Linked DNA regions of Homo sapiens: region 2 is linked to region 1. Evidence: promoter capture Hi-C in 16 types of primary human blood cells and fetal thymus (Javierre and others, 2016). All regions are on one chromosome and are shown on one strand. Each heading gives the region's core, a stretch centred on a gene start or on the middle of the fragment in contact. The rest is flanking DNA. Distances are from core to core; before and after follow the strand shown. Region 1 holds the start of C9orf152 (chromosome 9 open reading frame 152). Region 2 overlaps LOC105376219 (a long non-coding RNA gene).

What was found. The method cuts DNA at HindIII sites, captures the fragments that hold promoters and counts their contacts. A CHiCAGO score of 5 or more calls a contact.
Region 2: a contact is called between a fragment that was not itself captured here and the fragment with the promoter of C9orf152 in region 1, in 1 of 17 cell types (neutrophils). The highest score is 5.3, in neutrophils.

Annotation. Positions count from the first base shown.
Region 1 is chr9:110,206,843-110,209,731 of GRCh38, reverse strand. It overlaps C9orf152 (chromosome 9 open reading frame 152), which reads left to right and starts at 1,573. Exons shown (of 2, transcript NM_001012993.3): 1 at 1,573-2,345. The coding sequence starts at 2,153. RefSeq lists enhancers at 1,903-2,403, 2,404-2,889. The HindIII fragment of the contact is 8,259 bases long and covers 237-2,889 here.
Region 2 is chr9:111,280,159-111,283,004 of GRCh38, reverse strand. The region is part of intron 1 of LOC105376219 (a long non-coding RNA gene); the gene reads left to right. Among named protein-coding and RNA genes, the nearest start is that of MIR7702, 10 kb to the right of the region's middle. The HindIII fragment of the contact is 3,113 bases long and covers 1-2,846 here.

The DNA of each region.
Region 1 (2,889 bases), core at 324-2,823:
TGTAGATACAGAGTTTCACTATGTTGCCCAGGCTGGTCCTGAACTCCAGGGCACAATCAATACACCCACCTCAGCCTCCCAAAGTGCTGGGATTACAGTTGTGAGCCATTGTGGCCAGCCTACTGCCATGATGTCTACTGCCATGATTTCATGGCAGGTGCAGCTGGTCCAGCATGGATGGGTTGCTCTTGCCTTCATGATAGAGTGATCTACCGATAAAAAGGTATGAGGAAGCTTTGGCTATCTCTCTCGGTATTTTTTTGAGACAGATTGAGCTCTAATCCAATGTGATTGCTGTACTTATAAAAAGGGGAAAATTGGGCACAGAGACACCCACATAGGAAGAACATCATATTAGGCCGGGTGTGGTGGCTCACGCCTGTAATCCCAGCACTTTGGGAGGCCAAGGCGGGCGGATCACAAGGTCAGGAGATCGAGACCACGGTGAAACCCTGTCTCTACGAAAAATACAAAAAATTAGCTGGGCGCGGTGGCGGGTGCCTGTAGTCCCAGCTACTCGGGAGGCTGAGGCAGGAGAATGATGCGAACCCGGGAGGCAGAGCTTGCAGTGAGCTGAGATTACGCCACTGCACTCCAGCCTGGGCGACAGAGTGAGACTCCCTCTCAAAAAAAAAATAAAATAAAAAAATAAAAAGGAAGAACATCATGTCAAGATAAAGGCAGAGATTAGGCAATGTTTTTGCAAGCCAAAGAATACCAGAGATTGCTAGCAAACCATCAGAAGCAAGGTGAGAGGCATGGAACAGATACTCTCACACAGCTCCAAGAAGAAACCAACCCTGCTCACACCTTGACTTTGGACTTCTAACCTCCAGAACTCTGAGACAATAATGTTTGTTGTTTAAGACATCCAGTTTGTGGGATTTCGTTATGGCAGCCCTAGCAAAACTAACATATACTACCCAGTGAAGATTTGCTCTCCATCTTCCACGGCTCCCCCACATCAAATGACTAGATCTTGTCTGGTTAATGTCCAAAATGTCTTGTAGGTTCAGGCTCTACTCTGTTTCCATTGCCTCTGTAGACATATTGGGTAATTGGGTAATCAGTAAGCACCGTGATAGGAGAAGATAGAAAGGGACTTAGTTGACCAAATGCAGCAAGGCTAGGTCAAAGCTGGTGTAAGAGGGAGAGGGTCTGGGATTCAAAAGCAATGTGGAAATGTTGAGGCTGGCAAGCAGAGAGTGAGGGGATGCCTAACTTACCACTTGGTTGGAGAATGCTGAGACGGCAGAGGCTGCACCAAATGTCCAAGGGGTAGGGCTGGCCCGAGGCCAAGATTCCCCTGGGCTCTGTCCCATGGCTGACTTTAGGGCTGAATTTTCACCTGGGGTGTGTGTTGGGGTCTGAGTGGAGATCTTGGGGAGATCTTTGCTACTGGGTTTCTTTAGGGTGTGGCCGCGGGGCACACATCCAGAGGCACCGACCTTGTGAAGCTCCCGAGGGTGTTCTTTGAACTACTGCAAACCCAACCGGCAGGTTTGCTGAAAAGTGGCCACGTTCCAGTCCAAAATGTGTGAGCAGAGCGCGAGCTTAGCACTCCCCAGCCCCAGTCCCAGCTCTGCCAGGAAAGGGGAGACTTCACCGTGGCACTGGGAATTGGATTCTAAACTTTAGGATCAAGCAATGGAAGGACCTGGAATAAGACACCTTCTTGACCCCCCTGAAGGGCTCTGAGCAGCTGGGCTTGCCTTTCTCTTTGCTCCCCCAGTCCTCCCCTTACTTCTCGGTCTCCCACTCCCCATCACTCCTTTCCCTGCCTCCTCCTGCCTGTCTCCATCTTCCTCCCTCTCTTTCTTCTCTCGCCCCATTAATCCCCGCTTGTCACTATCACCTCCTTCCTCCAGTCTTTCCCCCTTCGCTGCCCCTTCTTTCCTCTGACATTTCCTTCTCCTCTTACTGCCACTGTCTCCCACCTTTCTCCTCCCCCACATTTCTCCCTATCCCTACCTCCTCTTCCCCTTCATCTTTCTCCTTCCCCCTTATTTTTCTATCTCCTTCCTCAGTCCCACTCCTCTTTCCACCCTCCTTTTGCCCGTCACTTCTCCTTCTCCCTCACTGCCCCCTCCCTCTCTCTCCCCTCCCCAGGTCCTGCCCCACCCAGCTGTGTTTGCTTTTCTCCCGGATCCGGATGGAGGGGTTGCCCTGCCCGTGCCCAGCCCTGCCCCACTTCTGGCAGCTTAGGTCTCACTTAATGGCTGAGGGCTCCAGGACTCAGGCCCCTGGGAAAGGGCCCCCACTCAGCATCCAGTTCCTGCGAGCCCAGTATGAAGGCTTGAAGAGGCAGCAGAGGACCCAGGCCCACCTCCTGGTGCTTCCAAAAGGTAGGAATGGACAGGTGCTGGGGAAGGAGAGACTTACCATGGGAGACCTGAGTGGCAGAGCTGCAGGGAGGCAGAGCCAGGGCTTTGCCAGCCCTCCCTCCCAGTGGGGAAGAGCAGGGGAGGCGGGCTCAGGGCAGCTCTGCTCAGCTGTCCCACCTGCTAAGGGAGCCAGGGGCCTCAGCCAAGCACCTGGCTGCCAGCACTGTTCCTGGCCTCTGCTCTGATGTTCTAATCTTGCTAGACTGGTCAGCCTGGTGAGCCAGGCTTGGCCCCCCTGCTAGCCCAGGTATGGCGATAGGAGCTCTGCTTCCTGGCTGGGTCTAACTAAGGCACCTCCTACAAACCAGAGAAATTCACTCTGGAGGTAGAAGACATGGCGTTCCCAACAGCCTGGGAACTGTCTGGGCCAGAGGACGCCTAGGGCTCAGAGACCCATGAGGCATCCCAGGCTCATCCAGCCTCAAACATCAGGCAGGGAGGTGTGATTGGACACAGAAACCCCCTCATGGGGAGAAACCTCCTCCCTTTAGGAACTCAGATTTCA
Region 2 (2,846 bases), core at 132-2,631, 1.1 Mb before region 1:
CTGACGCTTGTGCATTTTTTAAAAATAAAAAATCAATGTCCCTTGGTAGTCACTTTCTGAACTTTCTAGAGCTTACATCTGTTCCAAGTCCTCTTTTTGGCGGTACTAATTTTTATTTCTTGTTATGGAGACAGCATTTTTTTTTTTAATGTGAGGGACAATTCCTTGAAGAGCTCTGATAATGCTCATTCAAGTTCTTACCATGAACAGTGGGCCGGAGTATATGTATATTGCCGTGGTTAAAGTATATAACTTTAATATACATTCACAGTTTTTATTATCTTCTTGTACAGTTTTGAAATTCTCATGTCTGAAAGCATGTTTTGTCTCATCACATCTTAAACTCTTGGACCTATTCTCAGGATGGACTTAAGGACAATAAGAATTTATCTGCTCATTGCCGTATTTACAATTCATCACAATTAATTTCATTTGATATAAAACAGATTCTGAAAGAAACTTTTTCAATTTTAACATGTTTGGATACTTCATGAAAAAAAAGCCATACAGAAGCTAGAAAGAGGGGGTAGATCTGGAGAGTGAGAAGAAATTATATATTCTGATTGCAGGCTCTATGGGGGAGAGGGGAGGGAGGGAAAGAGAGAGAGACAGAGGGAGAGAGAGAGAGAGAGAATGAATAAATCCTAGATAGTAGGTGCTGAGATCTGAAACTTCCTTGAATCCAGTCATCCTTGTGCTGAGTGTTTCCTGGGGAAAATGATGCTTGCAGGTGCGTATAAGGTCAAAATAAGTAAGGCACAGGGTTGAGTCTGAGCTATTGGTTGAGAGTTCTAAGAATCTGTGAACCCAAATGATATGGACCACATCCAAGCATGTGGCTGTGTTTCCTCTTTTATTTTTTGCCCAATAAAGTCAACAGTTGCACAAGTGGTAAATTATTGGTTAATGATGTCCAGGTACTCACAATCTGCCTACACGTATTGCTTATCTTTTAGCCTTGGGTTCTGTACTACTTGGGTGAATAAACTTCAGATGACATCTGTTGCCATTGGTAGAAAAGCCTGAACTAAGGGGTCTATGCCTGGAAGTGGAGCACAGTTATCACAAAACTAATGGGTTGGCTGGGCGCAGTGGCTCATGTCTGTAATCCCAGCACTTTGGGAGGCCGAGACGTGTAGATCACCTGAGGTCAGGAGTTCCAGACCAGCCCGGCCAACATAGCGAAACCTCGTCTCTACTAAAAATACAAAAATTAGCCAGGCATGGTGGCATGTGCCTGTAATCCCAGCTACTAGGGGGTGCTGAGGCAGTAGGCTCACTTGAACCTGGGAGGCGGAGGTTGCAGTGAGCCGAGATTGAGCCACTGTACTCCAGCTTGGGCAACAGAGTGTGACTCTGTCTTAAAAAAAAAAATGCTGATGGGTTGCAAGATTTTGATAGAAGTGTGGGCCCATTTTGCCATAAATTTATCAGGAAAAAAAGCTGGATCATACCTAAGTTACCGAACCACCTGGGCTTCACTAGTGACCTTATGTGGCAGTGTCAGCCCGAGAGGCAGTAGGGTATGGGGCCATCTGGTAGACAAAATTTTCTCTCTGGCTCCGTCCATGTTCCTGCAAAGGACATGATCTCACTCTTTTTTATGGCTGCCTAGTATTTCATGGTGTATATGTACCACATTTTCTTTATCCAGTCTACCTTTGATGGACATTTAGGTTAATTCCACGTCTTTGCTATTGTGAATAGTGACACAATGAACATATGCATACATGCATCTTTATGATATAACAATTTCTTTTCCTTTTATACATCCAGTAATGGGATTGCTGGATCGAATGGTAGTTCTGTTTCTAGCTCTTTGAGGAATCACCACACTGCTTTCCATAATGGTTGAATTGATTTACGCTCCCACCAATGGTGCATAAGTGTTCTCTTTTCTCCACAACCTTGTCAGCATTTGTTATTTTTTGACTTGTTAATAATAGCCATTCTGGCTGGTGTGAGATGGTATCTCCTTGTGGTTTTGATTTGCATTTCTCTAATGATGAGTGATATTGAGCTTTTTTTCATATGCTTGTTGGCCACATCTATATCTTCTTTGGAAGTGTCTGTTTTGTGTCCTTTGTCCACTTTTTAATGGGGTTGCTTGTTTTTTTCTTATAAATTTGTTTAAATTCCTGATAGATGCTGGATACTAGACCTTTATCAGATGCATAGTTTGCAAATATTTTCTCCCATTCTGTAGGTTGTCTGTTTTCTCTGTTTCTTTTGCTGTGCAGAAGCTCTTTTGTTTGATTAAATCCCATTTGTCAATTTTTGCTTTTGTTGCAATTACTTTTGGCATCTTTGTCATGAACTCTTTGCCTGTTCCTATGTCCAGAATGGTATTGCCTGGATTGTCTTCCAGGGTTTTTATAGTTTTGGGTTATACATTTAAGTCTTTAATCCATCTTGAGTTGATTTTCGTATATGGGGTAAGGAAGAGGTCCAATCTTCTGCATATGGCTAGCCAGTTATCCCAGTACCATTTATTGAATAGGGAGTCCTTTCCTCATTGCTTGTTTTTATCAGCTTTGTCAAAGATCAGATGGTTGTAGATGTATGTCCTTATTTCTGGGCTTTCTGTTTTGTTCCTTTGGCCATTATCCTTAGCAAACTAACACAGGAACAGAAAATCAAATACTGCATGTTCTTACTTATAAGTGGGAGCTAAATGATGACAACACATGGACACAAAGACGGGAACAACAGGCGCTGGGGCCACCTTGAGGGTGGAGGGTGGGAGGAGGGAGAGGATCAGAAAAAATAACTATTGGGTACTAGGCTTAGCATCTGGGTGACAAAATAATCTGTACAAAAAACCTCTGTGACATGAGTTTATTTAT